3 separate regions of the Homo sapiens genome follow, and regions 1 and 3 are each linked to region 2. The links are contacts of gene promoters, found by promoter capture Hi-C in human tissues and cell types (Jung and others, 2019). All regions are on one chromosome and are shown on one strand. The core of a region is centred on a gene start or on the middle of the fragment in contact, and the rest is flanking DNA. Distances in the headings are between cores, read along the strand shown.

Region 1 (3,501 bases), core at 274-2,773, 130 kb after region 2:
AGCAATCCTTCTGCCTCAGCCTCCCAAAGTGCTGGGATTACAGGCGTAAACCAGCATGCCCAGCCCACTTTTCAATGTGCTGGTGTCCTTCCCTGGTGCCTGGCTGTGGCCATAAACATTGCCTTTTCTCTGCAATGCAAGTGGTTACTCTTGGCAGTCACGCTGCTTGCTTTGCTCACCTCTTCTAACCTGTGGACTACGAAACCAGTGCTCAGTGTAATCTTTCACTGTGACTTCAGGACTTGTGGCACCCACGAGGCCGTTTCTTTTCTGTCGTCGTAGCTGTGGGGTGGGCGACTTCTAGCTAGCTGTTTGCTAAGGTGAACCCAGACACACAACAGCATATAGTCCTTTTCCAGGGTTTTGCAGAAGCTGCTATGCCAGTTGCTAACTGAGCGGTCCTCGGAACCCTTGTTTCCCAGAGCGTGGTCTATAGACCCCTGACATGGGCATGACCTGGGGCTTGTCAGAAGTGGAGAATCTCAGAGCCGCAGACCTACAAAAGGGGAAGTCTGCATTTGAACACCATCCCCAGGGGCTTGGGTCACCCACTAGAGTCTGAGAGCCCAGTAAGAGACCCAGCAGGAGCCACTGGCTCTGCTGGAAGTTCTTAGCCTTGTCCAAGTAGGGTTGTACCTGCTAGGGCCCATTCCAATGGCTCCCCTCACTGGAGCAGTGAGCCAGCGCTGGATTGAAGTCCTCTCTTGCCTGCTTTCTCTCCGCAGGTGTCAAGCTAGGGATGCGGTCCATTCCCATTGCCACTGCTTGCACCATTTACCATAAGTTCTTTTGCGAGACCAACCTGGACGCCTATGACCCTTACCTGATTGCCATGTCTTCAATTTACTTGGCCGGCAAAGTGGAAGAGCAGCACCTGCGGACTCGTGACATCATCAATGTGTCCAACAGGTAATGGCATTTGGCTGGGCTCCTGATCTCCACCCGGTGGGGGGGACGGGCAGGGAAGGCTCCTATGGGGCCCTGCCCACCAGGTGCCAGCAATGGAGCTTGGAAGGAAGTACCTGGATGGCCTTGAACCAGGCAGGGCCAGAAACAGTAGCAGCAAACGTGAGAAGGAGCCTGATGTCAGAGGCCAGTGGGGTCTGTGAGAGAAACGCTGGGCCAGATTATGGGGAGCCTCGAAAGCTGGATGGAGGGCAGAGGCGGGGCTTCAGCAGAGGGAGCTTGGAGAGGCATGTCAAAGAAGATTCTGTGGAAGTCTTAGACAGGGATGGCTGCAGGCAGAAGAGCTTGCCTGCAGCGGGAGGGTGCAGACCCAGCCAGGTGGTAGGTCCCAGTTGCTTAGGAGCCTCGCCCTGCTGTGGGTGTGGCGTGGGCATGGCACAGCCGGCCCAAGCAGGTGTGTTCCTGCTGGGGCAGAATGCAGGGTCTTCGCCAAGGCGAGGGAAAGACGGTCTGGGAAATACAAAACTGAGAAATGTTCACTTTTTGGAGTATATCATTCCCATGAGAGGCTTAAACATGTTCCTTGGATGGCTGGACGTGGTGGCTCACGCCTGTGATCCCAGCACTTTGGGAGGCCGAGGCGGGTGGATCGCTTGAGCCCAGGAGTTCAAGACCAGCCTGGTCAACATGGTGAAACCTCGTCTCTACCAAAAATACAAAAATTAGCCGGGCGTGGTGGCGCATGCCTGTGGTTCCAGCTGCTCGGGTAGCTGAGGCGGGAGGATCGCTTGAGCCCAGGAGGTCAAGGCTGCAGTGAGCTGTGGCTGCACCACTGTACTCCAGCCTGAAAGGCAGAGCAAGACCCTGTCTCAAAAAGTAAAAAGTAAAAATAAGTTAAAAAAATACGTTCCTTGGGCCCAGAGTGAGAGCCCCGGGCATTGCCACCTCAGGTGATGAAGACTCCCTAATGCCGGGCTGAGTATAACAGGAAGCACAACCGACTTGGCATGCTCAAGCTTCCGGTTCCTCTGGAGCCATCGCCAACAGCCAGTCTTTGCACTTGACATTTTGCTGAATGATAGCGGACAGCCCATCTGGCTAAAACTAGGAGCTGGCTTCTTTCCTCTGTTGGTTACTGTTTTCATTCTCTACACTAGATGTGGAGATGAAGAATTTTTGTATAAAAACCCAAATAAAATGACCCTCCATGAATCTGCAGATGGACGATGTAGTTTGCATCTGGACATTGTGTGACTTAAGCAATTTGAGCCATCCAGTGCTCAGGAGACTGCCCTGGCTGCTGAAGCATTGCCATTTCTCTGCGCAGGTACTTTAACCCAAGCGGTGAGCCCCTGGAATTGGACTCCCGCTTCTGGGAACTCCGGGACAGCATCGTGCAGTGTGAGCTTCTCATGCTGAGAGTTCTGCGCTTCCAGGTCTCCTTCCAGCATCCACACAAGGTACATACTGGGGAACTGGTGCCTGTTTGGAGAGGCTCAAGCCATGGTCTCTGTTCTTTATCCCAAAAGTGCATCCCATCTCATACTCGAGAGCACAGCACAGAAGGAGAGCAGGGCTGCGGCTGGGAACTGGGTCTCCTGGCTCTGTGTTTGTGGCTGGGTTGGCCGCCCGGCCTCTCCCGTCCCACCCCTGTGGGTTTTCTCAGCCAATTCTCATTTCAGCTTCTGCCTTTCTGCCTGCTCACCTGTGGGCGGGGTCCGTGCTGCCCGCTGAAGCTGTGGCAGCTCCTGTGGTCCATATAGATGGTGTGCACGCTGGGCCTCGGGGAAGCAGGCTGGTTTTGTGACCGGCCAGAGTCCCCGTCCCCAGGGGATGCTGTGATGCCTCGGAGCACGCCTCCAGCTCAGCTGTGCTTAGGAAGCCATGGGGAAAGCCAAATCGCTTGAGTCAAGCAGCATGCTTTAACTTCTAGGAATGTGTGAGTCTCAACAGAAGAACCATTTCAAACAGCAGTAAAAGGGAAAAGTGGAACGCTTAGGCGACTGGCACACGATGCTCTGGGCACCGCAGCTCCATGCACGGGCAGCTCAGAAGGCTGGCCGGAGACAGAGATGGAGGAGTTGTGGTTTGGGGCTCTGGGCTAGGAGTTTCATTCTTTTTCATCGGAACTCTTCCTGAGATCATTGTAGATTCCCATGCAGTTGTGACATGTACCCTTAGCCCAGTCTCCCCCAGGGGTAACACAGCCAGGATGCCAAAACCAACACAGTCCACTGGCATCCTCACTTCCACTTGTATTCCTGTGTGTATATTTTTCTGTTCCATTTTATCACGACTCCGTTCACGGACCTACCACCACAGCCAAGGTGAGAGACGGTTCCACCCGCATGGGCCCTTCGTGTTGCCTTTATAATCTTGCCTCCAGCCTTCCACACTCCCACCTCAGTACCTGGAAAGCCCTGGTCTGGGATTTCTGCGCAGTAGTGTCTTAGTGGGCAGAATGCTTGCTGAGCATCCTGGGGGAAGGTGGGAGATGCCCTGGTGGCTGCAGGGTGGAGTTGTCAAGGCGACAGGGCTTAGGAAAGAGCAGCACTCAGACCTCAAGGGGTGTGTGATCTGTGCCCAGATGGGGAA
Region 2 (3,483 bases), core at 1-2,500:
GGACGATGCAGCGGGCCAGCCTTCCGTCCAGGCGGGCCACATACACCGACAGGAAGGTGCGGCTCACCAAGGCGGCCGAGTGCAGGGCCAGCAGCCCCGTCTCCCGGCACAGGACCCGGGGGAACAGCAGCCGCAGGAGCCACAGGAGCCGCTGCAGGAATACCCGGTTCATGCCAGCTTTGGCCGCCGCGACCCCGGAGGCCTCCTGCGTGGGCTCCCCGGCGGGCGCCTGAAGACCCCTGGCCGGGGCCAGGCACTGGCGCACCAAGGGGTAGACTTTGTGGGCTCCATAGGCCGCGAGGGCCAGGAGCACGGCCGTGCGCTTCAGCGTGTTCCCCCGCCAGGGCCGGGGCCTGGAGAGCACCGGCATGTCACCTGGGCTGGCTGCCGCGTAGGGACTGGGGCTGGTGCCTGGGGCAGCAGTTGAGGCAGGTGGCTGGAAGGATTGTTGCTCTGACCCTGGGCCTGTTGTCTAGGCAACTGGAAACCTTGCGATGGCCCCTGAGACTGTCGCTTTAGGCCCCCGGGGTGGTGCTGGGGCCCCTGGTGCGGTGGGCTCAGGGCCCTCCAGGGTCGCGGCCTCTTCGGGCAGCCCAAGTGGAGGAACTTGGCTCTCCTGTCCTGTCAGTGCCCTGGCCCCTGAGGTCAGGGCCTTGAGAGGTCTCGGGCAGAGGGGGCGTCTCTTCCTCTCCACCTTCTCCTCCTCCTCCTCCCCCGGTGGCGCCCCTCCCCGGGGCACCAGGCGCGTCCGTCCGCTCCGCAGCCTGGCTGAAGCGACAGTGACTCCTCCACCGGCCCAGAATCCCCACCCACTCTTCCCCAGGGGCGAGTCGGGGGAAGGGGAGGAGGCGGAGGAGGGGCGAGGGGCGGAGTCCGGGCGCGGGAGCCCCACCCTGTTCTCGCCCCTCGGCGGGGCCCGCCCACACCCCCACCTCCCGTTCTCGCCCCTCGGCGGGGCCCCTCCCGCACCACAGAGACGTGGGACGGCCGCGCGGACTAGAGAAGCGGCCCTCGCCGGCCCGACAAAGCCCCGCCCCGCCCCGCCCGCGTGCTCGCTCCACCCCGCCCTGCTCGCCCGGAGCCCGAGGCGCCTCTTCCTCTCCCGCTCGGAGCGCCGGCCCTCCGCTCCGGGGCGGGGTGGGAAGCGGAGGTGGGCGGAGCCTCCGGGGCCTCGCGAGGGCTGGTGGGCGGTGCCCGGCGGGCGCTTCCGGTTTCCGGCCGCGGTATGAGGGGCGGGGCCGGGGCTGCTGTGGGAGAGTTCTGTTGCTGCGGCGGGGCCTGCACGTTGACTGTGGGAAACTCGGTGAGCGGGCTCCGCGCGCCGGGCTGGGCTCCGGGACCGCGGAGGCTCCCCGGCCCATCGACGAGGGAGAGAGGCGAGCGGCGCGGGGAGGCCCGGGGGCCGGGGAATCTCGGGGCCCGCAGCCTACCTGCGTGTGAGAGGCAGGGGCGAGGGGAAACCGGGCGGCGCCTCTAGAAGCTGGTCTCGGGGGCGGGGCGGGGGGCGGTGAAGCCCCACCTGGAGGAGCGGCCGGGATGGGCCTCCGGGACGGTGTGCCAGGCCGGGGCCAAGTCGGAGGCCCCTCGCTCTGGGTGGGCGCTGGGGCCCGCGAGGGCTACTGTAAGGACCCCTGGCTTCTGAGGATACTGCGTCTAGAACTTTCTCCGTATGGGGCCTTGAGGTGCTTGGTCGAGACCTGCCTTTGCGCTTGGTCCCGAATCCTGCCCTCTAGGAGTCGCTCTTGCGGGCCTCCAGCCCACCGGAGGCGAAGCGGCCCCGGGCGGAAGGCCGCTGGATCCTCGAGGGAGGTGCCGGTTTCTCTCCGCGGGCGCCGTGGGGACGGTGGGAGGCGGGGGCGTCGGCAGCGCTTGGACTAGGTGCGGCCTTGGGCCTGCCTGGTAGCGGGGATTTGGGCCCGCAGAGCGCCCGCCTCTGCGGCTGAGTTCTGCCTGGCGGGGAAGGGAGCGCCCGATGGGTGCCGAGGCGTCCTCCTCTTGGTGCCCTGGCACTGCTCTTCCCGAAGAACGCCTTTCAGTTAAACGGGCGTCGGAAATCTCGGGCTTCCTGGGGCAGGGATCGTCGGGAGAGGCCGCTCTGGACGTGTTGACACACGTGCTGGAGGGGGCAGGTAATTGACCAGCGAACGGAAGTTTGTGGGGCCTGTGAACGCTGCTGGCCAAGAGGCCCTGCCGAGTGGAGCCCTGCTTCCGCCAGCGCATCAGAGACTTTGAAGCAAAGTGCAGGGGGTCAGGGTGGAGAGTGGCGGCCCCAGCCTCGCAGGGTAACTGAACTGGATGTTCTTGGCTGCCCAGCGCTTACAAGTCCCGTACCTTTTGTGCCCTGCCAGGAAACAAGCTCACATCTTCCTGTGGGAAACCTTCTAGCAACAGGATGAGTCTGCAGTGGACTGCAGTTGCCACCTTCCTCTATGCGGAGGTCTTTGTTGTGTTGCTTCTCTGCATTCCCTTCATTTCTCCTAAAAGGTATGGCCTATGGAGCAAGCAGGCGAGTTAGGCAGGAGGGTGCCTGTGCCCTAGCCCTGGGACTGGTGTGTGCAGCTGGTGGACCCTGGAATTGGGACCCGATGGAACAGGTAGAACCTGTCTGGGGTGGGGGTGGCAGGGGTTGTGTTTGTTATTGCCAACCCTTCCCAGGGTTCTGCTTCGTCATGACTTGCTCAGTTCCTTTTCCTGTGTCCCCTGCCTTCTGGTCTTCAGAATGCCCCCGAGAGGCAGGAAGATCTATGTTACAGTTCTGGAAATGATGCCCTCCCACCCACTCTTGGTCCACGGGGTGCTGGGATGGTAGCGTGGGATTCGGAAGACTTGCACCACTGGGTCACGTTGTTGCTGATTTGGTGACTCTTGTCCTCCTAACTAGTCTCACTGGTATTGCGCAGTGGCTGCATGAACATTACTCAGCCTGTGGAGGATGAAGCCATATTCCCTTTTAATGAACAGAGGACCTGTTAAAAGTGAATTGGAGATTAATTTTAATTATGTATAATACCTGAACACATCCCTATTTAAATTACGATATTACAAATAAGGCCAAATCTCCACAGGTATTTTTAAAAGCCGTTTTTTCGTGAAAAATTATCTTTGATGTGATACCATAGAAAGTATGCAGTGCTGTCTGAGGAGGATTCTTGTAGAAAACCACACCTTCGTACAGTTGACAAGACGTGCAGAGATAGAGGGCCCCGGGGAGCTTTAATCTGGGAAGCTTTAGAGGACAGACAATCTGATTTCTACACAAAGGAAACTGGAAAAGCAAATGAAAGAGGGAGAGGGAAGGGGGAGCTTCCAGAATAAGCTGGATTTAAGACGTTTATCTACCGAATGCCAAATCGGTACCTTGTTGGGTCCGGATTCAAACAAATATCATTGCCTTCAGTGATTGGCATATTCAACTCTAGCCCTGATGATGAGGGCTTCTTGTTGATTTGAACAATATGTAAACACTTCTGAAGTCTCTTCTTA
Region 3 (3,194 bases), core at 678-3,177, 250 kb after region 2:
TGTCCTCTGGCCCTGGTCCTCCTCGGTGACTGCTGCCCCCTCTTGAGCTTGAGGGTCCCTGCCGGCCTGCCAGGGCCTCAGCTTCAAGGCCTCGGGCTTCCCTGCCCCAGCCCTCATGGCAGCTGTGGCCTGGGGCTGAGCCCACTCAGCGACCAGGCCCTTGTTGTGACCCTGCTCCTGCTCCAAGGTCACTGGGGGTGACTCCTTCCTCAGGGCCAGCCCTGGCCTGGGAAGCGCTTTCCAGCCAGTGGAGGGGGACTGGGTGGGGGTTCCTTGAGCTCCCTGCTTCGGGGTGGGCTGATCCCGCAACTGGTCCAGCTTCCCAGCCTCAGGCTTGTCTGGGTGGCCGATGCCAGGGATGGGCTGCAGCTGACCTGCGGAAGGAGCCAGTGTGGGCTGGGGGCCTTGCCTCCTTTCCCCAAGGGGCTGTCAGCTGCTAGAAAGCCCATCGCCCTTCCTCTTTACCCAGGCCTCCCCCCGCCCCGCCTTTCCCTTACCTCCTGAGGAGCACTGGCGAGAGAACAGAGTGTCCCCACCGTCAGCAGCAGGCCACCAGCCCCTGGGGCCAGTAACCCAGAGTACCTCTCAGAACTTACACAGCTCCTCACTGCTGGGGAGGGGGGTGGGTGGCGCTCTAGGCCCATTAGGGCTAAGGGGCTGGGCCTATAGGTTAGGCCCAGGGGTTGGACCGGTGGTTGGGCCCAGGGAGCTTCAGCAGCCCTGGGTAGAAAGCCTTGGGCTGCTCAAGGGACCTTGGGTCCCACCTCCCCTCACTTCCCCAGTGTGTCCCAAGGGTGGGGGGTAGGGCGTTTCCCCAGCATCCCCTTTGCCCCATACCCATTAGTGAGCAAGGACTTCACACGTGCTTCCTAGGGACAGCTTCTGGGGAGATGAAGGGGTCGCTGCGACCTGGCACAATTTGCTTTTAGAAGTGAAAGCCCCAGTGTCTGCTACAGGGGGTTTGTTGGGGATTAGGCAAGCCCAGGGGCCACCTCAAGGGGTCTGTGAGCCACTTTGGAGGAATGTTGATAACCCCAATGCCTCCTGTCCTCTATGGAGCAGCTCCTCCTTAACCAGGGCCAACCATGGGGGGCACCGCTCTGTCTGCAGGGGTGAGGGGCAGACCCACCCACCTGGCCCCTCCCGCCCTACCCCCAAGCCTGGGGCAGGGCCACCAAGTGTGGCTACAACCACTGGCCTATAAGACAAAGGCCACACTCATAGCCCATGTCCTCGGGCCCCTCAAGCCCCTCTCTGCCAGCAACCCCACTTCACCCCCAAGCCCTATACTCCCAGCCACCTGAGATTCTTCCTGTCTCAGGAGGCACTGGGGCAGCCAGAGCAACTCCTCCCCAGCACACCCCAGCCCGCTCTCAGCCTCACTGTAGCGCCCGCTCCTAGGAAGGCCTCTTCCCTCCCTCGCCCCTAGAGTCTGCGCACACCCCTCGCCCTCCAGGGAGGGCTCTCTCAGGGCCATGGGCCCTTTGCAGCCCTGCCTGAGTACCCAAAGTGGGCCTGAGGTGGACAGCCTGCGGCAGTCTTCTTCCTGCTGGTGCCAGCTACTCACCGTCGGGGGCCCCTGGTGGGCTGGGCAGCAGCTGCAGGGTAGCCAAGCCCATGGGGGTTGGTGGGGCCCCTCCTGAGCAGCTCCCCGCCCACAGTGCCAGGATGGGGAGCAGCACACTCCTCTTGGCTGCCATGGAGGGAAGGAGAGCTGGGAGAGGCACGGTGGTGGCCACGGCAGGACGATGGCGGACGGCACAAGTTGGTCTTGCTCCCTGAGCTCCTGGCCCTGGCTGCGGCACTTGGAGTCTTCCCTGCCCACCCCAGCCCTTCCCTGGGAAGGCCCCCCTTCTGTCGAGCAAACGCCTCCCCCGACCTTGCCCCCAACTCCCCACAACGTGCACTGCTCCCACCTGAAGAGAAAGACAGATTGCCCTTTCCTCAGACCGGACGGTCCTGCCCTTTTGCTGTGAGGCCCGCATTGATTCTCCGCTGGCTCTGGCCCAGTGGCCTCCATGAATGGGGCTTCTGTCTCACACGTGGCAGGCCTGAGAGGCCCACCACAGAGCGGGTCGGCCACCGCAGGCTGCTGGGCCCTGCATCCATGGCTGCGAAAGGAGAGGGGGTGGGTGCCAAGGCCGTGGGCTTCTGCCGTGGGCAGCACTGTGGAGGCCTCCGGGTTCCAGAGGAAATAGAATCTGTGGGCACAGTGCAGGCGGCGAGGGTATGCCTCCCGTGCCTGAGACCCCAGTGCTGCTTGGGCATGGGTGTGCCTCGGGCTGGGCTGGCTCCTGGTTCCTCTGCTTGCCCTCCAGGTCTCTACCTTCTCCTCTGTAAAATGGGGTAGGGGGCAGAGTTGACGTTCTGTGGCTGTCCCGACCCCCTACATAGGAGCATGGGTGTTCCAGGCACTGCCTGGGTGAAGCCATGTCACAGGTCCCCCCCAGACTTCTTGGCCAACAGTCTGGGATCTCTGATGTGCCTAGGCTGCACGCATCCTTTTGGTCAGAGGGGCACCTGTGGGTCAGGATGACATGAGGTGGAAAATAGGCTGGGCTCGATGAGGGGACTGCTGGGTGGGGCCAGAGGGGCGTGTGGTGGAGTGAGGGGCAAATAAGGGGGTGTCTGGCTCCAGTTCCTAGAGCCCGCCACCCTCAGAGGGCTGCCGGAAGTCCCTGCTCCAACTGGGGTGTCCCTGCAGCCCCAACCCCGCGTTCTGCTGTGGGAGCCAGGGTTTGTGGGAGCAGGCAGGCGGGGGCTGGCAGAGAGGACTGATCTCACCGCTGGCTCGGCTCTTCAGGGCCAGTATTGAGGAAGCTTTTCCTACAGCCCTGTCCAGCGTTGACTTAGGTTTGGAAGCGATCTTAAGAAATGAGTTAATTGTGGGCAAGGCTTGGGTGGAGGGGAGAAGGGAAGCAGTGGAGGAGGGGCAGGGGCCGGCAAGGGCCATCAGGCAGGAGTCTCCATCCTGGGGCAATGAGGCAATGTGTGAGATCCAGAGGGGTGCAGGGCTGGTCAAGGTGGGGAGGAGGCCTGGCAACTGGGTCTTCACTGGGCTCCTTGAGGAGCTGCCGCTCCAGCTAACAGTCCCGTAGGAGCCACATGGGGTCCTCTGCTATATCCAGGGTACCCTCGCCATCCAGGGCTCTGGTTTCTGACCTGAATTTGGACCCTGCCACGTACAGACCAGA

What was found. Contacts are between HindIII fragments. The study calls those that stand out against the background at their distance.
Region 1: a contact is called between a fragment that was not itself captured here and the fragment with the promoter of BCAP31 in region 2, in 1 of the 25 tissues and cell types used here (IMR-90 fibroblasts).
Region 3: a contact is called between a fragment that was not itself captured here and the fragment with the promoter of BCAP31 in region 2, in 1 of the 25 tissues and cell types used here (pancreas).

What each region holds. Positions count from the first base shown.
Region 1 is chrX:153,593,412-153,596,912 of GRCh38, reverse strand. It overlaps CCNQ (cyclin Q), which reads left to right. Exons shown (of 5, transcript NM_152274.5): 2 at 726-909; 3 at 2,234-2,366. Among named protein-coding and RNA genes, the nearest start is that of CCNQ, 4.0 kb to the left of the region's middle. The HindIII fragment of the contact is 4,557 bases long and covers 1-3,501 here.
Region 2 is chrX:153,722,154-153,725,636 of GRCh38, reverse strand. BCAP31 (B cell receptor associated protein 31) reads left to right here and starts at 1,250. Exons shown (of 8, transcript NM_001256447.2): 1 at 1,250-1,303; 2 at 2,349-2,484. The coding sequence starts at 2,393. ABCD1 (ATP binding cassette subfamily D member 1) reads right to left here and starts at 781. Exons shown (of 10, transcript NM_000033.4): 1 at 1-781. The coding sequence starts at 370. RefSeq lists an enhancer at 1-161 and silencers at 622-1,581, 1,792-1,971. The HindIII fragment of the contact is 13,330 bases long and covers 1-3,483 here.
Region 3 is chrX:153,477,760-153,480,953 of GRCh38, reverse strand. It overlaps a transcript of HAUS7 not described here and the pseudogene ECMXP. Among named protein-coding and RNA genes, the nearest start is that of HAUS7, 8.8 kb to the right of the region's middle. The HindIII fragment of the contact is 3,794 bases long and covers 31-3,194 here.